5 separate regions of the Homo sapiens genome follow, and all the other regions are linked to region 3. Evidence: promoter capture Hi-C in 16 types of primary human blood cells and fetal thymus (Javierre and others, 2016). All regions are on one chromosome and are shown on one strand. The core of a region is centred on a gene start or on the middle of the fragment in contact, and the rest is flanking DNA. Distances in the headings are between cores, read along the strand shown.

Evidence for each region. Contacts are between HindIII fragments. The CHiCAGO score rates a contact against its expected background, and 5 or more counts as called.
Region 1: a contact is called between a fragment that was not itself captured here and the fragment with the promoter of KCNQ5-AS1 in region 3, in 1 of 17 cell types (M2 macrophages). The highest score is 5.3, in M2 macrophages.
Region 2: a contact is called between a fragment that was not itself captured here and the fragment with the promoter of KCNQ5-AS1 in region 3, in 10 of 17 cell types (M2 macrophages, M0 macrophages, erythroblasts and 7 more). The highest score is 9.9, in M2 macrophages.
Region 4: a contact is called between a fragment that was not itself captured here and the fragment with the promoter of KCNQ5-AS1 in region 3, in 3 of 17 cell types (M2 macrophages, erythroblasts and M1 macrophages). The highest score is 6.2, in M2 macrophages.
Region 5: a fragment that was not itself captured here is called in contact with the fragment with the promoter of KCNQ5-AS1 in region 3 in 1 of 17 cell types (naive CD4 T cells); the score reaches 5.5 in naive CD4 T cells.

The regions. Positions count from the first base shown.
Region 1 is chr6:72,709,626-72,714,347 of GRCh38, forward strand. The region is part of intron 1 of KCNQ5 (potassium voltage-gated channel subfamily Q member 5); the gene reads left to right. Among named protein-coding and RNA genes, the nearest start is that of KCNQ5-IT1, 81 kb to the left of the region's middle. The HindIII fragment of the contact is 5,761 bases long and covers 586-4,722 here.
Region 2 is chr6:72,647,194-72,652,454 of GRCh38, forward strand. The region is part of intron 1 of KCNQ5 (potassium voltage-gated channel subfamily Q member 5); the gene reads left to right. The region is part of intron 2 of KCNQ5-IT1 (KCNQ5 intronic transcript 1); the gene reads left to right. Among named protein-coding and RNA genes, the nearest start is that of KCNQ5-IT1, 19 kb to the left of the region's middle. The HindIII fragment of the contact is 2,125 bases long and covers 2,703-4,827 here.
Region 3 is chr6:73,140,706-73,145,470 of GRCh38, forward strand. It overlaps KCNQ5-AS1 (KCNQ5 antisense RNA 1), which reads right to left and starts at 2,809. Exons shown (of 5, transcript NR_046621.1): 1 at 2,721-2,809. The region is part of intron 10 of KCNQ5 (potassium voltage-gated channel subfamily Q member 5); the gene reads left to right. The HindIII fragment of the contact is 1,820 bases long and covers 2,522-4,341 here.
Region 4 is chr6:72,677,810-72,682,458 of GRCh38, forward strand. The region is part of intron 1 of KCNQ5 (potassium voltage-gated channel subfamily Q member 5); the gene reads left to right. It overlaps KCNQ5-IT1 (KCNQ5 intronic transcript 1), which reads left to right. Exons shown (of 4, transcript NR_120503.1): 4 at 545-749. Among named protein-coding and RNA genes, the nearest start is that of KCNQ5-IT1, 50 kb to the left of the region's middle. The HindIII fragment of the contact is 4,074 bases long and covers 1-3,894 here.
Region 5 is chr6:72,694,535-72,699,554 of GRCh38, forward strand. The region is part of intron 1 of KCNQ5 (potassium voltage-gated channel subfamily Q member 5); the gene reads left to right. Among named protein-coding and RNA genes, the nearest start is that of KCNQ5-IT1, 67 kb to the left of the region's middle. The HindIII fragment of the contact is 1,351 bases long and covers 934-2,284 here.

The sequences.
Region 1 (4,722 bases), core at 2,216-4,715, 430 kb before region 3:
CTTTTGCTTTATTTTTATTTCATTTAACAAATATTTACTAAGAACACACCATGTGCTAGCCACTAGATCTTAAGTGCCAAGTCACTGGTGAGCATAACAGACATTCTTCCTGTACTACAGAGATTACCCTCTGGTGGAGAAAACAGTAAGAATCAAATAACCATGCAAATAAATACACCCATTAATTTATTAAAAAAATGTATATTGAGCGCTCCCTGTGTTATGAATCTGTACTAGATTTGTGGAATATAGTACCTGAACCCATGAATCTTACATTCTGGTGCACAAATTAAACAGTAAGCAAATAAACAAATAAGTAAATATTATCATGGTGGGTGGTGATATGAAGAAAAATAAAGCTATATAAGGGCACAGAAAATTTGAGGGGTTGAAATAACATGTTTAGAGAGGAATGGAGTGAGTGAGGGAAAGAATGGTAACAGATAAGGTCAGTGAGATAGGAAAAGGCCTGGTCTTCTACATGGCAAACAGTGCTTGTTATTACAAATGGTGAAAGTGCACTGTAACAAATACAAGATGTTAAAAGAATGGACAACTGGAAGCCTACCCAAGGGAATCAGGGGAAGCTTCTGTTAAGAACTGAATTGTGTCCCCCCAAAATACAAAATTTATTTAACTCTCAATGTAGCAATCAGAAATCAATTAATAAGCTGGCATTGGTAAGTTCTTACCATTCAGTAATTACTTTGAATGTAAATGGATTAAATTATCCAATCAAAAGGCATAGAGTGGATGACTGGATTAAAAAAATTTAAAAAGCAAAACAAAACAAGACCCAACTGTATGCTGCCTACAAGAGACTAATTTCACCTTAAAATACACTCAGACTGAAAGTGCAGGAATGGGATAAATTATTACATGCCAATGGAAATAAAAAGAGAAGAGGGGTAGCTATACTTATTTCAGACAAAATAGACTTTGGGTCAAAAACTGTAAAAAGAGACAAAGAAGGCTATTATGTGGTGATAAAAGCGTCAGTTCATTAAGAAAATGTAGCAATTGTAAATACATATGCACCCAACATTGGAGCATCTAAATATGTAAAGCAGACATGAAGAGATTTGAAGGGAGACATAGACTGCAACAAAATAATAGTGGGGGACATCAATACCCCCACTTTTAACATTGGACATATCATTCAGACATAAAGTCAATAAGGAAACATTGGACTTGAATTATACTTTGGGCCAAATGGACCTAACAGACATATACAGAACATTCTACCCAACAGCAACAGGATATACATTCTTCTGAAGTATACACAGAGCATTCTGCAGAACAGATACTAGGTTAGGCCACAAAACAAGATCAAAATTAAGATCCAAATCATATTGAATATCTTTTCTGACCATAGTAGTAGGAAGCTAGAAATCAATAAGAGAAAGGATCATGGAAAATTAGCAAATATGTGGAAATTAATTCCCCATGTGACTGTGTTTGGAAATAGGGACTTTAAAGAAGTAACTAAGGTAAAATGAGGTTGTAAGAGTGGGGCCTTAATCCAATAGGACTGGTGTCCTCCTTATCAGAAGAAGAGACATTAAGAATAAATGTACACAGAGAAAAGACCATGTGAGTACACAGCAAGAAGTAGCCATTTACAAACCAAGCAGAGAGGCCTCAGGAGAAACCAACCCTGCCAACACCATGATCTTGGACTCCCAGCCTTCAGAAATGTGAGAAATTAAATTTCTGTTGTTTAAGCTACCCAGTCTGTGCCATTTTGTTATGGCAGCAGTAGCAGACTGATAAAAAAGAGTTAACCCCTTGAAAAGAAGCATAAAGGAACAACATGTGAAAAGCACTTGGTGCATTTGAGAATCTGAAAGAAAGCCGAAGCTAGAGATGACACATGAGAGTGGTGCCTGGGGAGATGAGAGAGGTAGAGGGAAGCCAAATCATACAAGGTCTGGTGGACTCTGCGAAGGATTTTGGCCTTTATCCTAAAGGGCTGACATGATTTGATCTGCATTTTTAAAATCATCTGACTGTGGAGAATTGGAGTAGGGAAAGTGTAGGTGCAGGGAGACCTATCCAAAGGTCCCAGGTGATAAATTACGCTAGATTTGGGAAGGTGACAGTGGAGTTGGAGAGAAGCGGATTGATCTTTAAGAATGAATTTGTTGGGACAAGGATTTCTTCTACATTTCTGGGTTTTTCAGATGGAAGGAAGTTGGTGCCATTTTAGAAGTGGAAAACACTGGACTCACAATTTTATCCCCAACTTGACAGTTCCATTTTGGCCATGCTGAATTTGAGATGCTTCTGAAACATCCAAGTGGAGAATCAGTCAGTGAATGAATCTGGAGCTCAGAGAACAGATGGACTGGAAATATAAACTTGGAGGTCAAAGCATATGTGTAGTAATCAAAATATGCTACAGTTTCAGTTCTCTGTGGACAGGGATTTTATCTGTTTTGTTCACTGATGTATTCAAATGCATGGAACAGTGCTGGTATACAGGAGGTACTGAATACATGTTTGTTTTAGGAATGAATGAATGAATGAAGAATGGATAGATTACCTAGGAAAGAGTTTGACATAAAATGAGAAACAGATCTAGAATAAAACCCTGGGGAACACCTACATTTATAGGCTTGGAAGAAGAGAATGAACTTACAAAGAAATAGCAAAGGAATTGTCACAGACAGAAATTCATAGAGTCCAAGGTTTAAGAAGCCAGGGGAAGAAGGCGCTTCAAGAAGGAAAGAGAATATACACTCTGAAGTGAGTAGCATGCAGCAGCAAGCCTAGCATATGAATGAACACTTCCGAATCCTAAAAGCAAGACCAGCTTTAAAATACTTAAATCTGTTTGTCACTGTTGTCAATCTTTGAATCTAATAAGATTTAATTTATTTTGTGTAAGATTTACCTCAGTTAATAGCCGCTTGGAACTACCTTTGAAAGCACATCTCTGACACATTCTCAGCCTGGGTGGATATACGATAACATCATCATTCTTTGTATTAAATTATGACCATAATGACAGTTGGGGAAAAATGTCAGCAACTAATAGAACACCAATAGGTTTTCTTGACAAGCTCACTTGGAGTATCCTCTCTGGATGAAAGCTCAATAATTTTTTGCTTTACTACCTCCTCCTGTTACTTCACTCTGTACTCCCTTATACTTCTGCATAAGAAAAACTTTATTAACTTCATGCATAACCACATAATTTGAGTCATAATTAAGATTCAGATGAGCAGTAAAACAATTTTATATCACCACCTGTATATACCTTCTAAAAATAGATGTTTATTAGTTACTTAGTTTTGGTCAGTCTTCCCTTGGAAGATAATCTACGTGGCAACAAAAACTTTCTCTCTCCTGTTTGCTGCATTCCCAGACCCAAAACTGTGCCTGATGTATTTTAGGTGCTCAGTAATATGTACATAATAAATAAATGAATACATGCTTAAAGTCGCACGGCAGGAGGTAGATATAAAAATGCTGGTTGGGTTTGCAGCTTAGTCAGAGATGCAATTCCTAATATCAGGTTACACATTTGAAATCCAAGCAAACATCTTGGCTTGCTAACATCTCTGGCTGACTTTTAAGCCCCAGCCCCATTTCGGATGTTTCCACATGAAAGCCAAACAGGCATTTTGAACTCCAGGCGTCCCAAACGTGACTCTTTCCTTTTCTTCCTGCACCACCCTTCCCCAGCCGTCATAAGTTCGCCTCTGAAAGGCTTTTCCTATCTTTGAGAGAAGCATCACCATCCCATCAACCTGTTCATCTGAGTTACAAAAATTTTCTACCTTCATCAGAAGTCCAACCAATCACCAAATTCTATTAATTTGGCTTCTACAATTTTTTTTCATATCCACCTTCCAAATCATCTTGGTTCATAGAATGATTTGCGTTTTCCCAGCAGTTGCAGTGATCTCCTAATAGTTCTGGTGCCTCTGGCCTCTCTCTTCTCCAGTCAATATTCCATATTGTCAGCCAAGATTTGCTAAAATAAGAAACTGATACAAATCTTCATTAACCAACAAGAGAACATCAGTTAAGTTCCTTTTATGCATCTATTCTAGGCTAAAGGAATAAGTGCTTGAAGCCCACAGAGGGTTCTTTGTCTTAGAGAGGGGCATGGAGACTAGACAGGCTTATGTCACTGCCCTTCTCAGGCTTCTCCTTTACAGTAGAGTAAAACTTAACCACTTAAGATGATATTCCCAGACCTTTAAGTGCAGACTCTCTTGCCTTTCTAGCTTCATCCCGTATCATTTCCAAAATCCTAAATACAGTCTACCTGGATCCTGTGTTGTGTTGAGAGAGTTATGCACTTCCATCCGGAGTTATGCCTTTTTCATCTCATTTCCCTAACTGGAATGAGTTTCCCTTTCCCCTACGTGCAAGATAAAATGCCATTCATTCTTTGAATCTCAACTCAAATGTTAGCTCACCTATGTGTCCTTACCCATTACACAGACTTCATTTATTTCTCTGTAAGAACAATTACAACTGCTGTGGAGCAGATTCTGAGCAACATAGAGACATATGTTCCTAGTGAGTCCATTTGTTGTTGAAGGCCTCTTCTTACTAAGTCTTAATCTCTACCTAATTAACTATCTTAGGTATTAAGTTCATATCAACTGCTATGTTTGTAAGAATTTCCTAGATTCCATACTTTATGCTCTCTAAAGCATTGCCCATCATTGTGCAATGCTGCAATACCTGCTTTGTTCTTTATTT
Region 2 (5,261 bases), core at 2,515-5,014, 490 kb before region 3:
GCCAGAAAACTATACTTTCTATCATGTGTCCTTGCCGTGTAGGCAGGTGACTTATGGAGAAATGGGATGAAAAAAATGGACATGGTGAGTCAATCATCAGTAGAGTTGAATTGAAAGAATGCCATTAGTTGGAGTCAGAGTCATGGCAAGAGAGAGAGAGTGTAAGGTAAAGTTGTGAGGAAGAAGAAACCATGCATTAAGAAGAGAAACCTGGTCAGGAGACAGAAGGCTGTACAACAACCCAGAAAAAACAAAACAAAACAAAACGAAAAAAAAAGAAAAAAAAAAAGAGATGCCATAAGATGAGAGAAAGAAAGAGAGAGGCAGAGACAGAGACTGAGAGACTGATCATCTGGCATATGGCCCTGAGGCAGAGATTAGCTTGTTCCTCAACTTCCCTAGGTTTCTGATAGCTGTTCAGTTCACAGACACATGCATGTAATGCCCCTGACCTCCAGGACCCCCATCTATGGACAGCAAGGAGCTCTTTTTGCAATCAAAAGAGAGGGACCAAAACAGATCATTATGTATTGCGCCATAATGAGGCAAATTTATTTCTCTTATTTGTAAGTTCCTATGGGAATGACTCCCCCATTAGATCACAGTATTGACGATAAGCATGAATAAGCTAATTTGGGTAGAAAAGTCACTTCATGTAGTAGAATGTAATGTTGACTGTTAAGATATCTCATACATCATGAAATTAAATAAGATTTCCCTTTTATTTCATTTGTTCAGCCACTCAGTAAATATTGAAGACCTATTAAGTATAAAGAAGTGCAAGACAGCTTGATGGATTAGAACATGTATGTAACAAACCCACTCCCAGGGAACATGTACAATCTTGTATGAAAGTTGAGACAGATACACTGATGACTACCACACAGAGAAACCTATGGTAATTAAGTTTGATAATTATTTATAGCAGTCACATTATGTACTAAAACATAAAGAACATAAGGCCATTCACCATGGCTATTGAGATGGATGAGGCTGAGCCTTTGACGTTGGAAGAACAGTAGCACTGTACACAAGAACTGAGGATCACTTCTTGCCATCAAGACCAGGGAAGCCATCATGGAACATCGTGCAGTGGGCACAAGAGATAGAATGCCCATTGCAACATCATTGGTAATAGAAAAAAATGAAAATGTCCATAAGGATAATAATGAGTAAATAACTGGCAGTGTCATTGTATAGGAAAATACCATACAGTAATTGAAAGGAATGAATTAGAGCTACATGAATCTATATTGATATATCTAAAGCCTAATGTTGAGCCAAAAATAAAGGTGCAAAAACATTTTTATAGTGTGAGACGAACTATGCAATATTTTAAAACATGGCAACCAATACTTTTATATTACTTAGACCAGCATACATATGTTGTATAGATTTTTTTTTAATGTTTAGACTTGGTAGATACTAGGATAGCTTTTAAATATGGAGGGGGAAAAAGAGAGGAAAATGATATTAAGGAGGCATATGCAGGAGTTTCTACTGTATGTGAATATTTAAATTTTTTTAAAACCTAAGCCTGCAGAAATATAGCAAAATGGGAGATGAATACATGGGCCTTCATTTTTTTTTTTTTTTTAATTCTCAGAGGTCTTCTGTTTGAAATATCTCAGAAGAAAAAAAAAGAAAAGCCTACGTGTGTTTATGTGGAGACACATTCCAAAGAAGGGACATGTGGCTGGTTATACTCAAGGTGGTTATGTTCAGTTAATCTACCAAACTGGATGATACGGGTCAGGACCCAGTTTTAGTTCAGAGATCCTCAGTTTTATTGTGTGCTTAGTCGTATTACTCAAATGAGTGAAATTAGCTTTTGATAGAGTCAGGGTACCACTTCATGTGACCAAACAAATGCACGAAGCCTGGAGATGGCTGTGTTTGAGCACAGGCTTTGTCCTGCTCGCAGATGTGCAACTGTGCATCTATGGACAGCAGTAGAGGGCTTCTAAGAACACTGGTGGCAAATATGTCAGGAGTCCCTGGCCAATACTGTTGATGCGAAGCTAAGGTTCTAAACAGTTTTGGATCACAGCCTCTTTCAGAATCTCTACGTATTTTAAAAACCTGTGAAGCATGTCCTTAAACAGACATGCACGTGTATGTGCACATATGCATGATTACATAAATTTCCACAAGTTCATAAACCAAGGGGTTTAAGAACCTTAGTTAGGAAACTCGTGTATAGGCACATTACCTTAGATAAATTTGGTCAAATCCTCCAGTGAAGATAACTAATGGTGCAGTTTCTGTGAAAACACACAGGACTCTGAAAATGGAGCTACGGACCCAGTAAAGAGTTTGTACAACTCAGTGAGACTTCCTAAATTCATTGATTTACATACTCTACTAACCACCATCAATCTTGGCACACAAATGACCAGAATATACAGAATCTATCTTTGCTTTATTTGTTTTGTAATGGTTCTTGAATGCTTCTTTAAAGAATAAAACTACTGGACATAGAAAATTCTTCAGCTTGTACAATCATTTAGGATGGTGTAATTCAGATGAAGCATTACACGTGAAAAGGAAACTCAGTCAGATGACAAGCAAATTCTTGGCATCCAACCCTGACCACCAATGCAGAATATGACTAAGGAATAACATTTTTAGTAAAAGGTCACAGACAACATGAACTTAACACATTTTATTCACCTGGTGGCAAATAGAAATGAAATCCCAGAAGCTTGGTTCCTTGAATAAATATTGCAGCAACTGACACATCCAAATATATTTAATACAAACAGTCTCTCATTGCAAGTGCTATGTTTTTTCTGACCATTACATATTTTTACTCATTATTTACACAGCTAATGACTGTTTTATAATGTTAAACTCAACCTTCCATTTTTCTGAAATTATGTTTATATAGTTATTGGTTTGATGGAATAATTAAAATGCACTTATGTGAGATATAAACTAAGTTTCCTTTTCCTGTCTTGTTTCTTATAATTTAATCTGTATTAGGTCATTCAACTAGTAATTGTTATTCTAATAATTTCCCCTATTTTCTTTTCTTTGAACTGGCTGACTAGCTAAAGTGTATAAAAACAGTGACTCATAGACATGCATTTTGAAGTAACCAATATAAATAGGTACATTCTGGTTATATCACATTTTAGACAACTGCTTAGTCAAATGAAATGCAAAAAGAAAAACGGAAAGAAAACTATTTCAAATACCTTGAAATGTGTGCTTCAAGCTGACTTTCAGAATAGGTGCACATTTATATAGCTATGTAAAAAAGAAGGGGAAAAACACAGAAATTCCAAAATATTTTCAAACTGGCTTAGACATCTTGACACTTTACTGTTTTCCTCTGCCAGGAGAGTAAATGAGTGGTTTGCCCTCTGGGGAAAAATCCATTTAAAAGCGAAACTATTTTAAATGCATACCTTTTTACAAGAAAGAAAAGAATAGTTCTTAGTAGTGGGGGAGTGGGTAGGATATATGTATATGGAAGGGCACAGTGAAATGTATTAGTATAGGGTCTTGTTTACTTGTAAGTATTTTCTTCCTTTTTGTCATTCCTCACACATTTACATGGTTAGCACTGGTGATACAAAGAAGAAAGAAATATTCCTAGCCTTCACGTGGTTTTAGTCTAAAGGGAGAACACTCAGGAAAAACAGTGTGCATCAACCTAGAGATGCCATGAGAATGAAATGTGCAGTAACTAATCCATGGAGGAGAGGATGGTCAGAGGGGGTCGTGTTTAAATTGGGTCGATTAAGGTTGCAAAGGGTCAGCCTATTTTAAGAGGGCAGGTGGGAAGGAATAGGAACAGAGGCCAAATGCAGGAGATAATATTTTGTAAACTGTTTTGTAAATGATAAATTGTACCTTCTGTGTGGAGGTAAAGTATGAGGGGAGATTTCTGCCTTCTTCCTATCTTGTTCTTATATATTTGTTCATATATTTAACATAGCTACCCCCTTATGGTATTATAATTACCTGATTACCTTTTAATCTCATCTGTGAAGTCCCTAAGTGTAGGAGCAGTACTTTATCCATCTCTTTTCCCTAGTGCCTAACAGGTCCAGACAGCTGGTAGATACAAAATGAAGACTCTTTTAGTTGAACTGAGTGAATGAAAGGATGGACAGATGGATGCATAGATAGATACTCTGTAATTACAAAGAAATGTACTTGGGCTATGACTCCTTCAGTGGAAAAAACAACATAGCAGAAAAAATGCAATACATGGGGTGTGGTAGAATTGTAAAAATATTTTTACTAGAAATACTCTTGGACTTTATGACAAATTAGAAATTATTTCCTTCTATGCCTGGCCCTTCCAAAATTTCACATTCATGCATACACTAGTATACTTGTTAAATTGTTGGACAAAAATCTCCTTCGATTTAGAAGTCTATTATTTCGTTGAGATGACAGTTTTTAACTAGTAATGAAAGTTTTCCAATGAAAACACTCTAATTTTGCAATGTGTACCTCAATTTTGTGAAAATAAACGGCTGAGTATACTGGAACAATCTTAATTCTGTTGAACTCCTTAAAATGATATTACATATCAAAGAGTACACCTTTAAACTACTAATGGAGGAAAATAGAATAACTCAAGGAGAGCAAGCAGACAGCTGGAATTTTTGGGAAATGTCTGTGGTATTTGGGTTTATTTTTAAGGGAAAGAAAAATTTCCCATTAAATTTTATAACACAATAACACTTTTAAAACTTATACTCAAAAAGAATCTTTATAATGCTGTTGTAAAACTCAGATTATATTTTATTCATGAATTACAGATTTCTTTTTTGATGACGGTGGTTAGGGTAAGAAGCGGCTTTTATAAGCTTTATTTATCTCTTTTAATTACCTCCTTCTCCTGTCTCAATGCTCACACTTACACTCACTTTAAAAAATTTTTATCTTTCATGGGATCTATATCTAAATAACACCACATCATATGTAAATTAAGAAACATTCCAAATATTCTCCGGGACATTGAAAGGAAATCAAGCAAAACATTCTGTAATGTGTAGGCAACTTTAAAAGTGCTTGAGGCAGAAGCAAAAAAAAAAAAAAAAAGTGAGAGAAAGAGGCTTTCTAGCCTGTGTCTTTTTTAGTTAGATGTTTCAGAAGATGAAGAAATTTTAATTATGTGCTTCCTTAGAGTGAGATATTAATTCCTCTGAATCATTCTCTCCAATTTTGAGTCCCACTCTCATTTTTCTCTCCCTCTTCTTTTCTCCTGGTTTTTCCCCCTCCCTCTTTACCTTTTCTCC
Region 3 (4,765 bases), core at 1,559-4,058:
TGTTGGAGTAATTCTATGCAAAACCCTACAAAGGGTATTCAGTAGGATTCTAAAACGCACTTTCAGTACTTCCTTAACTTATTGGTAAAAACCATTACCTGAAGAAATTGTCTCAATTCTGATCCATAGGTGTCTTTTTTCTTTAGTTGTCCAGGTTCTTTATTCAGTCCCTCAGGCATCTTCATTCAAAGACATATCCTACTCCTCTGCTGTGTTTCATATGTACTCTTGTCCCCCTAAGATCTGCTTCTCCTATTGGGTGGAGAGTGACCTCTCAATCTCTGGTTTCAGACCCCAAGTGACTACGTTATTTCTTGGATTTCTGAGAAGAGTTGTGTCTTAGTTTGTTTGGACTGCTATAAAAAACATACCATAAACTAGGCAGCCTATAAACAACAAATATTTACTTCTCACAGTTCTGGAAGCTGGAAGTCCAAGATCATGGTGCTGGAAGATTCTGTGTCTGGAGAGGGCCCACTTCCACGTGATGGAAAGGGCGAGGTTCCTCTTGGGTCTCTTTATGAGGGCACTAATCCCATTTATTAGGGCTCTGCCCTCATAGCCTAACCATCTCCCAGAGCCCCCACCTCTTAATACTATCACTTTGAGGGTTAGGGATTTAACATATAAATTCTGGGGGGACACAAACATTCAGACCATAACAGGTTGCTTCTTCCATTACTTTTTGTGAAATGCTTGTTCTTAGTTTTTAGTGACGGGGAAATGCTTTTCTATTTTGATAAGACTGAAGTTCCACCTGGCTTTCTACTCTAATCCAAGTGCTCTTTGTATTATAGAACAGGATTTCTGTCAGATTTCTCTAGGTTCTGTCCCATGGTTTGTTGTTACTCTACAGTGATAAGGAAAATTATATTCTGTTTCTGTTGGTGGATAAAATAGCTTCCTGCTTGAGCTCTGAATGGATTTCATCTCCTCCCTTCCAGCAGAAACTGAGCTGCCAAATGACCTTCGAGTGCTGCCTTAACCATACCTTTTGGCTTCTGTAGATCCAGGTTTCATTGAGAAACCCAGGGTTATAAACTGGAGCCCTATATTTTGTTTCATCAGCAAAGTGTGTGTGCATGTCCACATTGATACTTTAAAATGAATCTGAATGCTGTATTAGTTATCTATTGTTACATAGCAAATTACCCTCAATTTAGTGGTTTGAAATAACACATACTTATAATCTCACAGTTTCTATGGTCAGGTATCCAGAAGCAGTTTAGCTGAATGGTTATGGCTCAAAATCTCATATGAGGTTGCAGTCAAGCTCTTGGCTGGAGATGCTGGGAGAGGACCCATTACCAAGCTCAACTGAGCATTTGCTAGCAGGCCTTTTATTTCCTTGCCACATTATTCACACCCTAGGTTGCCTGAATGTCCATATGACATGCAGCTGGCTTCCCCCAGAGAGAGCTGAGAGAGTACGCAGAGAGAAGCTGCAGTCTTTTATGACATAAGCTCAGAAGTGTTATGCCATCGCTTCTTTCATGTGTAAGTGGTCACAAAGACCAACCCTGTACAGTGTAGGCAGGGACTATACAGGGGGGTAATACCAGGAGATGAGGGCCACTGGGGACCATGTTAGAGTCAGGCTACCACAAATGCCTTCAGATAGATTATGTCTTTTAAATTGCAGATTTCAACCAGTCCCTATTGTCTTTCCAGGAACCCAAACCACCAATTCCCCATTCCTTTCGACCTCTCCGTTACCTACCTGCCTTTAACGACATGGGTTTATAACTTCTGGTCTAACCATTTTATGTCCAGTATCCTTTGTATTATATCTCAAAAAAAAAAAAAAATCCTGGCCTCAACCTATAGCTACGCAATTATATTCCACTCTTAGTGCAGACTCTCAAAAGGAATATTAACAAAATATTGAGTATGTGATTACTGCAGCAACAAGTTAAATAAAATGAGGAGGCCAGGTGCGATGGTTCATGCCTGTAATCCCAGCACTTTGGGAGGCTGAGGGGGATGGATCACCTGAGGTCAGGAGTTCGAGACCAGCCTGGTCAACATGGTGAAACCCTGTCTCTACTAAAAATACAAAAATTAGCCAGGCGTGGTGGCGGGCACCTGTAATCCCAGCTACTCAGGAGGCTGAGGCAGGAGAATCACTTGAATCCAGGAAGAGGAGGTTGCAGTGAGCTGAGATTGCACCCTTGCACTCCAGCCTGGGCGACAAGAGCAAGACTCCATCTCGAAAATAAATAAATAAATAAATTGAGGGAGCAGGACATGAACTAGTCAGTTGCAAAACCAAAGTGTCATAACTTCTAACGCAGCTCTCTTTCTTGTACAATGTATGGCCCCTCTTCAGCTTTTCAAGAGGTTGAAGATATGTTCTTGGTTGCTTCAAAGGGCAGAAGCAGAACTAAAAGGTGTGTGATACCAATATTTAGTTCAATATAATGGCAGCTTAGCACTTAGAGACTCCACAGCAATTGAGTGGATTCCATAATTGGAAGCATTCAAATCAAAGTTGGATGATCAACAGTCAGGAATTTCTGGAAGCTTAAGGAGATCAAACCAGAAAACCTCTAAGAAATTTTCTTCCAAATCTGAGTTTTTATAATCTGCTCTTCTGGACCAATGCAAAGTATCTTCCTTAGCCATTAACTCGTATCCTCACTAGCAATTCTATACTAAGAAATAGAAGAGGAAAGCAAGGATTGGCTGAGGAATGCCAGGAGTGAGTTTTCTGTCCTTACCCTAGTTTCACGTCTCTTTGATACCGAGAAAAGTGCTACCCGCTGCTTCTTGCCTCTCATTCCTCCCACTGTTTCTTTTCCACTTTCACTGTCAGCCATAGTCCTTTCTGTCCTAAGAAGTGTATCAGGTGTGTCCCACCCACCATTGTGAGGTTTATGTGTGTGCTCCATAGCGGCTCATTCTTAGAACTTGAATAAGCCCTCCACTGGATTTCAATTCATATCAGAAGGTATTTGAGGGCTGCTACTCAGAGCTAGCATGTTTCTGGGCATTTAGAAGGCAGGGAGGAGGCGTGACAACTGTCACCCCAAAGAACTTACTGTTTGTCTGTAAGTTTTACCACCCCAGCCCACCTCAGTTACAGTATTGATTGGCACTGAGGGGAACAAAAGGCACCTTCCTCATTCTTCAGACTTCATAGTTTTCAGAAATAACCTGTGGGTGACGTCCAAAATTCGCACAAAATAAGCACAAAATTAACCATTACACAAATCACAGAATTTAGCCCATATTTAAGAGAAGCACTTTTCAGCTGCATGGTGATTTTTCCTTCATATATCTCAAATTATTTCCTTCAAAGTCACACTTAGTTGTCTGCTGCATAAACAGAAACCAATATGACACAATTTTAAAATTATATTTAATCGCTTTCATGGTGTGCTCTACTTGGTAAAGAAGGGGGGAAACAAGGTTAAGTAAAGGCCAGGATCCTTTTTCTGCAATGGATGACTGACATGGGAAAGAGATGAGTTACCCAGGCTTTGCTTTTTGCTACCTGCAGTATAAAACTCCCTGACATTGTCCCAAATTGCTTTTACAGGTATTTTATTTTCAACATCTAATTTGTTCGGCTTTTCTTCCCTTGCCATCTTTTTCTTCTTTTGCCATGTATAATGCATAACAACAATTTCTGAACTCCAAAAGCATAGAAACCTCAGAATAACATTACCTGGGAAAAATTAATCTCTCTACCTCCAGCTACCAAGAGAATCATTTGCACATGAAACCCTGAGATTTGCGTCTTTCATTAATCTAATGCAGTAGCAATTGTTATACCACATCGTTCTATTGGAATTGATGACTAATCATTCCCAAAACTCTTTTGAAACTATTGTTCCCATAATTTTGTGTTTTGATTGAAAAATGTCATGACCCTATATCTCTTCATGTTATCTGTTGCATAGCTAACCCTCTCCCTCAGATTTAGTGGCTTAAAACAGCAACCATTTGTTTAGCCCACAATTCTGTTAGGCAGTTCTTCTGGTCTTAAGTGAACTGACTCATGCTCTGTGTTCAGCTGCTGTGTTGGCTGGTGCTGACTGGACTAAGGTGGTCTCAGTTAGAATTACTGCTCTTTGCTCATGTGGTCTCTCATCCTCCAGCAGGCTGGGCTGGTTCACATGGTGGTGGTGGGTTCCCAAGAGCAGTACATTGATATCTGAAGGCCTCTTGAAGTTCAGGCTCAACCTATCACAGTATAATGTCCACTATGTCCTGTTGGTCAAAGCAAATGGCAAGGACAGCCCACATGCAAGAGACAGAGAAAGAGATTCCACCTCTTCATGTGAGAAGCTGCAAGTGTCGTGGCCAGTATTGCAATCTACCATCCCAGCCATTTAAAGCTTATTTGCTTTTAGTATTTTCAACATCCTGTTGGTTCTATGAAGACAGTGTCAGTGTCTAATTGACTTTTTTATTTCTCCCTGTAGTATCCTTCACTCAAAGAGCCTAAGAAAGAAAAGGAAAATAGCATTGTTAGCACCTCATGTATCGAGGCATTGGCTAGACATTTTCTATGAATTGGCTCATTTAATACACACATAGCCATTTTGCAGATAAGGAAATTGAGACTCAGAAAATGTAAATAACTTGCCCACATAATTCAGTCTAAATGCCAAAACTGGGGTTTGAAGTTGCACTTAGGTCTAAGTTCAAAGCTTTTTATGTTCTACCATGCATGCTGCTTAGCATGTTTTCTTTCATATAATTCATGCTGCTAATGAAACAGTATAAACCAGCTGTATGTTAACTGCTAGTGAAATGA
Region 4 (4,649 bases), core at 608-3,107, 460 kb before region 3:
ATACAAAGTTGAGTGAGCAGACTTGTTTGCCTCTTTTCATTTTTTGTTACACTGATGGATACCACATGTCTTAGGTGATTGGGGGTGCGGTGGCTAGTAATTACTGCCATTATTGTCTGTGATACAGCAGTGTTCAGATAGCAGCTATTCTGCTTATAATCAGATGAACAAGATATTATGTTTGGCTTTGTTTATGGAAAAAAAGAAATTTTATTAAATTGTGGTTAGAGGCCTGTTAGCATAAAGGATGAATGGTTTCTTGGAATTACAACTTGAATATTTTGAGAGAAACAAATGAAAAGTATCTCACTGTAGGGCTGAATTGGTTTGTGACCTTGCTTCTCTAGCTGAAATCTATTGACTCTCTCAGAAGTATTGCTAGGAGAAGAAATAATCCTATAAAAGGACATTAAGCAATGCTAAGAAAAAGATGATGATAATAATAATGCTTTCAGCTCACCATGTGCCAAACATCATATTAAACACTTTAAGTGCATTATTACATTGAATTCTCACAACCCTACACCATATCCTCATTTTACAGATGGAGAAAATTGAAGCCTAGAAAGATCAAGAAACTTTCTCCAGGCCATAAATAGAGGAATCAGGATTCAAATCAGATAGACCCCAGGGCTTGTTCTCTTCAACACCACATTACCCTACATTATTATTCAATTATTAAATAAAACCTTGCATTAGTGGCATTTCCAAATGCATAACAAAAAAATAAAAAAAAGTAACACTGGTCATATGTATCGTATTTTTTATAAAAATTACATTATTCCATTTGTTTTTCTGGAAATTTTTATTGCATTGAGTTGCTAGAATACCATAATATAAAACTTGGCATTTTCTCAATAAATGTGTATGATGCTGTAGTAGGTGTTTAAGATGTCTTTGGAACAACATTTAATTTGTAAGATCTTTTTTATTAATGTGCTGAATTAAGTAATTATTTCTTTCCCACTTTGGGTATGTTCCATATTTGATTTTCTGCTGCTTTCAAGAAGCCATACAATAGAATTCTTAATCCCGTTTTGACTCAACTTCTTTCCAAAAACTAAAATAAAAATAAAAGACATGAAGCACTTCTTTTATCTTATTAGAAAAGCCAATAAAATGAAAGAATCTTCAAAGCAATTTTTTCAAAATATAAAATTGGCAGAGTATTTTGTTTATGAAACTATGGAAACCAAGTTGAGATTTATAAACAAGGACTTCAAAACTTGTTTTGCTAATGCAGTGTCACTCAAGAATTCACTGAACCTCACAAGGTAAACTTGCAGAGAATGTTTGTTTTGGGAAATGATGATGATGACAGGCAAGAATTTTCTAGGTAGAAAATTGAATTTTAATTCAGCTACCATACAATTCACTCTTTTAAAGTATGAAAGTCAGCCATCCCATTACAGGGTATATACCCAAAGGACTATAAATCATGCTGCTATAAAGACACATGCACACGTATGTTTATTGCGACACTATTCACAATAGCAAAGACTTGGAACCAACCCAAATGTCCAACAAAGATAGACTGGATTAAGAAAATGTGGCACATATACACCATGGAATACTATACAGCCATAAAAAATGATGAGTTCATGTCCTTTGCATGGACATGGATGAAATTGGAAATCATCATTCTCAGTAAAGTATCGCAAGAACAAAAAACCAAACACCGCATATTCTCACTCATAGGTGGGAATTGAACAATGAGAACACATGGACACAGGAAGGGGAACATCACACTCTGGGGACTGTTGTGGGGTGGGGGGAGGGGAGAGGGATAGTTTTAGGAGATATACCTAATGCTAAATGATGAGTTAATGGGTGCAGCACACCAGCATGGCACATGTATACACATGTAACTAACCTGCACATTGTACACATGCACCCTAAAACTTAAAGTATAATAATAATAAAATAAAAATAATAAAGTATGAAAGTCAGCCAGGCATGGTGGCTCACGTCTGTAATCCCCACTTTGGGAGGCTGAGGTGGGCAGATCGCCCTAGGTCAGGAGTTCGAGACCAGCCTGGGCAACATGATGAAACCCTGTCTCTACTAAAATTACAAAAATTAGCTGGATGTAGTAGTGCATGCCTGCAATCCCAGCTACTCGGGAGGCTGAGGCAGGAGAATAGCTTGAACACAGGAGACAGAGGTTGCAGTGAGCCAAGATCGTGCCACTGCACTCCAGCCTGGGCTGGGTGACAGAGCAAGGCTCCATCTCAAAAATAAAAAAAATTTTAAAAAGTATAAAATTCAGTGGGTTTTAGGATATCCACAGAGCTAAACAACCATTATCACTATGGGATTCCGAAATATTTTTATTATTCTAAAAAAGAAGCCTCCTTGTCCATAAGCAGTACTCTCCATCCCCTACCACCACCCCTTTCCTAGGTAACCTTCTATCCATTTTTTATCTCTATGTATTTGCCTATTCTGGACATTTGGTATAAATGGAATCATGTAATATGTGGCCCTTTGTGCCTTTTCTTTCACTTAATGTTTTCAAGGTACATTCATGGTGTAGCATGTATGAATATTTCATTTCTTTTTACTGCTAAATAATATTCAGTTGTGTGGATATACCACAGTTTGTTTATCCACCAATCAGTTAATGTGTGTTTGGATCAGCTTATTTTGTTTATACTAAAATTCTGAAGAGTAGGAGCAGGAATACCATCCATGCTAGTTTCCAACTGGAGAATGATAACACTCTTGCCTTCTCTCTCAAATTAAACAAAATCACAGCCAATGAAATGAAGATACCTTCAGAAAGAAAAACCTTGACTTATTTAGGCAATAGATAACCATTTTTTTACTCGTTAAAATGCTTCAGTAAGTTAATTTTGCTTCTCATTACTTTGCCTAGCATTTGCTAGTGTAAATTCATTGTCTAGAACTCCCCCCAAAATCCACATTTACAAAAATATAAGAGGAAATATCCCCTTTCAATTAAGTATAAAAATAACCAAGGTAGTGCTATGAAACTAAAAGTATAAATTAGCATTATGTTTCCTCATTGGCTTTGTTGGATTAGTCCTAAATAACCCAAAAGGAAACATAAATTTCAATTTGTAGGGAGTTTTGTGATCTGATACTTTTAAGTGGGTGTTTAGCAAGTGGCAACAGAAGAAAGAGCACTAGACTGCAATTACTTACTGCAAATCAGAAGCTGCTGGAAACACTGCTTACTAATTGTATACCAAAGCACTTGAGTAAAAAAGTGTGGAAGGGCTATGAAAGCCCTGCTTCTCCTGTTACTTACTTCTGTAAACCAGGACACAAGTTGAGTGAGCTGTGCATTTATTGGAGCTCTCTTATAGAGCACGCAGATCCTGCATGTTTGGAAGTTACAACATTGAGGACGTGAGAAGAAAGCAATGGGGGCTTTCTGTGTATGTGAGAATAAAGCAACGGGGGCTTGCTGTGTGATGATGCTAGTTTGTAACTACTATTATGATAACAATAACAATGATGATAAGAGATAATAATAGCTTTTATTCATTGAGTAATTATTCTCTGTTGGGCTCTTTGCATCTACACGTTACCTCTTAGCATCACAACCCTCCTGGATAAGTTTTATTATCTCTATTTTACAGGCAAGAGAAGTATGCCACTGAAGAATGAAGTGACTTTTCCTTGTGTCAGCTAGCTAATAAGTAACAGAACTGAAATTCAAACCCAGATCCAAAGTCTCTCTCTTTGAACTAGTCAAGGATGGATAATTAATGTTTGACATTAAAACCATAGATGCTTCAAATCCATAATATTGATGATAATATGACTTATGTGGCCCAAAAGATGCAGCCTCTGCATGCATGCCCTAAGTAAACCTGTTTTGCCAGCTTTTGTTCCGGATCTTGCGCCTTCACAGTTGCCCCTTTAAGCTTATCCCCACAGCTTATCATCATCATGCTGTGATCCCAGGACATTCAGAAGATGTGATAGAGTTTTCATGGGATAAACCTGTGAACCATTCCCTTTCAATATCTTCAGTGCCCCTTTCTGACTTATAGAATATGGAGTCAGTCTAAATTATTTAAATTTTCCCTTGAGGATTCTCTAGCCCTATCCTAGATTTGCTCCTGGGTTGCCTTGGAGAATCAAATGAGTTCTTCCCTGAGGGGGAACTGGAAAAATCCTGGAGTTCCCCAGGACTTGAGGATTTCCTGGAGTGACCTCCTTCTTGTGAGATCCTTCAGATCCATGGTCCCAGCTTTCAAGTATGTGGAGAAAAGAGCCTCAGTAGAGTTATCTCTGTCCAAAGCCACTTCATAAAATACTTCCTTAGATATTTTAATGCTTGGCAGTCCCATCTGTAACATTACAGGGATTGGACAATTCCTCACATGGTTATGTTCTTTGGCCAGCACAGTATTAAAAAAACAAAACAAAACAAAAAACGCTCTATATTGTTTTTAGGAACAAAATGCTTGCTCTAGTTCTCCACGGTCTTCTCCAATATCTATTGTATCACAACCAGCCAACTTCCCTGATTAACACTCCCTGCCTGACCCTTAAAGGTGTTTGTTTCTGAAGGTACTGGAAGTGATAATATTCTAAATTTCTTCCAGCTCTACTATCCTCTGATTCTCTCCTTATTTTCAGTTTACAAAAAGGATTTGTACCTTTTTTTTCCT
Region 5 (5,020 bases), core at 359-2,858, 450 kb before region 3:
TGATGGTGGGCAAGTCAATGAAGCTCACTGAGCCAGAATTTCCTCATCTATAAGATAAAGGTGGTTGTGCCACCCTGACTACTTCATAGAATGGCAGTGAGGACCCAAGGTAAGAATACCTGGACAGACTACCTCAAGAAATGTGTTATTGTCACGATACTGGAACTACACCTTTTTTTAAAATAATTTCAACTTTTCTTTTAGATGCAGGACATACATATGTGACTTTGTTACATGAGTATATTGCATGATGCTGAAGTTTGGGATGCAAATAATTCCACCACCCAGGTACTGAGCATAGTACCCAACAGTTTTAAAACCTTTCCCCGCTCTATTAGTTCCCTATGACTGTTGATGCCATCTTTATGGCCATCAGTACCCAATGTTTAGCTCCCACTTATAAGTCTCACGGAGAGCTTTTGTGGTATTGGTTTTTTATTTCTGAGTTAATTCACTTAGGATAATGGCCTCCAGCTGCATCTATATTGCTGCAAAGGATATGGTTTCATTCATTTTTATGGCTGTGTAGCATTCCATGATATATATACATATACCACATTTTCTTTATCCAGTCCACCAATGATGGGCACCTAGGTCAATTCTATGTCTTTGCTATTACGGTTAGTGCTGCATTGTACATATACCTCTCTATATATATTCTAGGACAACTGCCGTCAAGATATTTGTACACATAAATGACCGTTGTTGTAAAACATAGCATTGTGTGTCTATATTTCATGACTTCAATGCTGTTTCAAAAGGACCTTAGTTTTTACCTAAACTCAATAACATTTTTATTTCTATTTTTTCTTTATGATTTTTTAAGCTTACTGAAAAGTACAGAAAACAATAAATATTCCCGTACTTTCCTCTTATATAAAATGGTTCCACCATCTTGTCACATTTCCTTCAAATTTTCTTACAACAAAACAAAGCTTACAGAGGTTGCTGAAACCCCACCTCTCCATCCCATTCACCTCTTTTCCTCTCTGAATGTTATTATCTTTAAATGTTCACACAATGACAAAAATCATGTAACAACACTTCTCAGAACATATACATGCCATTTAGCTATGCATGACTGTGTTTATAATATATAATATTACGTATATTGGATTATAAATATTATGTATGATTTTATATAAATATATATGTGCAAACATACACATATACACACATACACTTGTTTTGGGAAGATTTAAACTTGTACTTAAATTGTTTCATTCAAAAATAAGGTTTTCAAGAGCTGGGCGAGGTGGCTCATGTATCTAATCCCAGCTATTCAGGAAGCTAAGATGGGAGGATAGCTTGTGCCCAGAAGCTCAAGGCCAGCCTGGGCAACATAGCAAGTCTCTGTCTCTAAAAAATAAAAAATAAAGAAAAGGTAACAATTTTTTTAAAAGTGAGCCAAAAGTAATGTTTTGAGAGATTCAGCCATATTGATGCATGCAGTTTTAGTTTATTTTAACATGAGAAGAGAATGTGGCTATTAAATTGCTGGTAAGAAGGTACAAATATCTAGTAGACCAATTTGGAAAAAACAAGTAAATTTGGGAGAATGTATATCCTGTGACCCAGCAATTTCACTTCTCCGCATGAGAAACTCTTACACATGTGCACAAAGATATCTAAAAGGTTGTTCGCAGCAATGGTTTTAATCATGAAAACCTGGAAGTAATTTAAGAGGCCCTCATTAGTAACATGGGCAAACAGTGGAATATTATACAGCAGTGAAAATAGCATTTTAATAAAATGAATTATGGTAATCAGAAAAATTGTCAAACTATTAACCACATATAAATCTACAAACAATACTTGATAAAATACGGGTGTGAAAAAATTTTTAATATTAGGCACTTTATGAAGCAAGATGTTTTCTCCTATTCATCATAATTTTTACACAATCTGTTTCCTTTTTAAATGAGTGTATTAGGCTTGCATGAGATAATTACAGAAGAATAATAAGACATTTTCAAAAAAGATGCAGGTTAATAAATGGGCAAGATCTATTTTGCAATTTTTCTCCAACATTTTTGTGTGATGCTGAGTGGCAACTCTTTATCTCTTAGTGGGCCACAATCAAAGAACTCCATAAATTAGTGTTATTTATAGGTTATCTGCTTTAAGAAAATCTTGCATATTAAAACATAGACTTAAAAATATATAGTAAGCTGGGGATTTTTTTAAATAGAGGCATACTTGGATTTATAATTGGAAACACCTTTGCATAGGAACACTCCCAGTATCTTAAATATGGCTTACTATATGAAATTTATTTTTTCAAAGCTTCAAGAATACATATCTTGCATAAAGAAGAAATATATATAGTGATAGTAGTAATTTTAGCACTAAATAATGGTTGACACTTCAGTGCCACATATTAGTAGCTCTAGTGATAAAACTCTATCAAAGATGAAGATAATCAGTTTACTGCTACCCCTTACAAAGTCTGATATTTATTTGAGGTCAATCGCGGTATCATTCTTTAATTTCATATCTTGTCATGTTCATCACCGTGAAGTTGAGGTAAAATTCTTTTAACTCATTCTGTAAAACTGTTAAGCTATAAATCAGATGTTCATTAAAGTCAAATAGAGTTTAGTTTTGTGATTTCATTCTCCTCAAGAATCATTGAGCGATCTTTTCCCTGTGAAACGGTACTTCAGTGAGGATTGATTTTGTAGCTCAGATAGGATGGTTGTTTTTACTGGTCATTCCCCATGTTCATTTATCCTAATCTTACCAATTATGCACTTCTGGGTACCAATTGAACTGTGGAAGGAGCAAGTGGGATGCAAGGGAAGAGGAAAGGGCCATATAGAAGTTATAGGACACAATAACTCATGGTGGGTCACAACTTTATTTCAAGCAGCTTCTTCTCTGAAATCTGGTATGCAAATTCTAGATTTATTCCTAGATTTAAACCTTAAATTCTAGATTTAAACCTTAAACTATATACAGTGAAAGCAGCTGATGGTGGTAAAACAAACTGTAATCCAAGATGAATTTCAGAATGAGAAAATTTAGAAGAAATTAGGATATAATTCCTTAGGTTTCTGTGAAAAATAAGCAAGGCAGGAGTGATGAAGAAATATTTGGTAATGAAAGTCAAGAGAATTACAATAAAATAAATTACTTAGGACATGAGTTTAGTTACTGCAGTTTTATGTGGATGTTTACATTTTTAACTATTTCACCTGTTATATTGTTTTATTAAAAGGGTTCCTTTTTTCAGCTTTATTGAGGTGTAATTGGTAAATGGATATGTTAATTAGCTTGATTATGGCGATTATTTCACAATGTATACATAGATCTAAATATCAATTTATATACCTTAAACATATACAATTTTTACTAAGGAAGTTCTTGGTTAAACAAAATACCTTTTCAAAGTGTATCAACTGGGGACGGTGGCTCATGCCTGTAATCCCAGTACTTTGGGAGGCTGAGGTGGGAGGATTACTTGAGTCCACTAGTTCAATACCAGCCTGGGCAGCATAGTGAGACCCTTTCTCTACAAAAATAAACAAATAAATAATAAAAGTGTGTCCGTTGATGTTTGTAATTGATTTCTACTCAAGTAATCAAGTCAGTAGCTTCAGAATAAAGTTATTCTTTATTTTAAAACCCAAATAGGTAAAGCACCAGTAAAAATGAATGTATTTAGACTTTTTTTTTTCTTTTTGAGACAGAGTTTCACTCTTGTTGCCCAGGTTGGAGTGCAATGGCGTGATCTTGGCTCACCGGTAACCTCCGCCTCCCAGGCTCAAGCGACTCTCCTGCCTCAGCCTCCTGAGTAGGTGGGATTACAGGCGTGTGCCACCACGCCTGGCTAATTTTGTGTTTTGAGTAGAGATGGGGTTTCTCCATATTGGTCAGGCTGGTCTCGAACTCCCAACCTCAGATGATCCACCTGCTTCGGCCTCCCAAAATGCTGGGATTACAGGTGTGAGCCACCGCACCTGGCTTGTTTTGTTTGTTTGTTTGAATGTTGCAATTATGGGGGGATTTTCTGGTCATTATATGAACATGTTGAAAGGTTTTTAAATAGGGAAAAGAGAATAAATGTTCCATGATAATTTGGAAGTAAATCTGTGTTTTTTTCTTCTTCTTCTTTTTTTTTTTTTTTTTTTTTTGGAGAGATAAGATATCACTCTGTTGCCCAGGCAGTAGTGCTGGAGTGCAGTGGCATGATCATAACTCACTGCAACCTGGGCTCAGGCAATCCTCCTGTCTCAGCATCCTGAGTAGCTAGGACTGCAGGCATGCACTTCCATGCCTGGCTATTTTTTTATTTTTATTGTTGTAGAGATGGGGTCTTGCTGTGTTGCCCAGGCTGGTCTCAAACTTATTGCCTCAAGCTGTCATCCTGCCTTGGCGTCCGACAGTGCTGGGATTACAGGTGTAAGTCACCATGCCCAGCCGACTTAAGTTTTCTTAAGGATTTATTATACTTTAAAAGGCAGAATAGAGTTAACCGTAACACAGTCTCGTAATTAGAGATTATATTGATTTCTTGTTGGAAGTGCCAGAAGGTACCCATTCTAACACTGTTTTGGCTGAATCTTATAGATAAGGATGGCACTTTGGAAAAACTAAGGGTAAGATGGTACATGAATGGTTAAAAATCTGAATCAGCTATTAGAGCTGAAATCAGGTGGGACCTTCTAAATTTTAGATCCAGATTCTCTTTTAGGGAATAGCTTTTATGGAAAGGGAAGTGAAAATATTTTTCTGTAGTCTGCTTTGTGGTATGAAATACTGTTGATCAGACGACTGCTCAGGTTCAAATTAACAGTGACTAAAGATGAGATCAGTGGTTAAATGCTGACAAACTGTCATTTAGAGATTCACAAATTGCTCCAATGACCAAAAAGGAATTTAAATATTTTTTATTTGTATCAGCTGAGTAAGACCTCTCTTGGCTCCTCTCTTGACCTCCAGAATGAATTATTTAAGTCTAATGTTTTTTCTTACCAGGAGAGTTACATTATCCTACTTGGCTGCTTATATCAAGTTA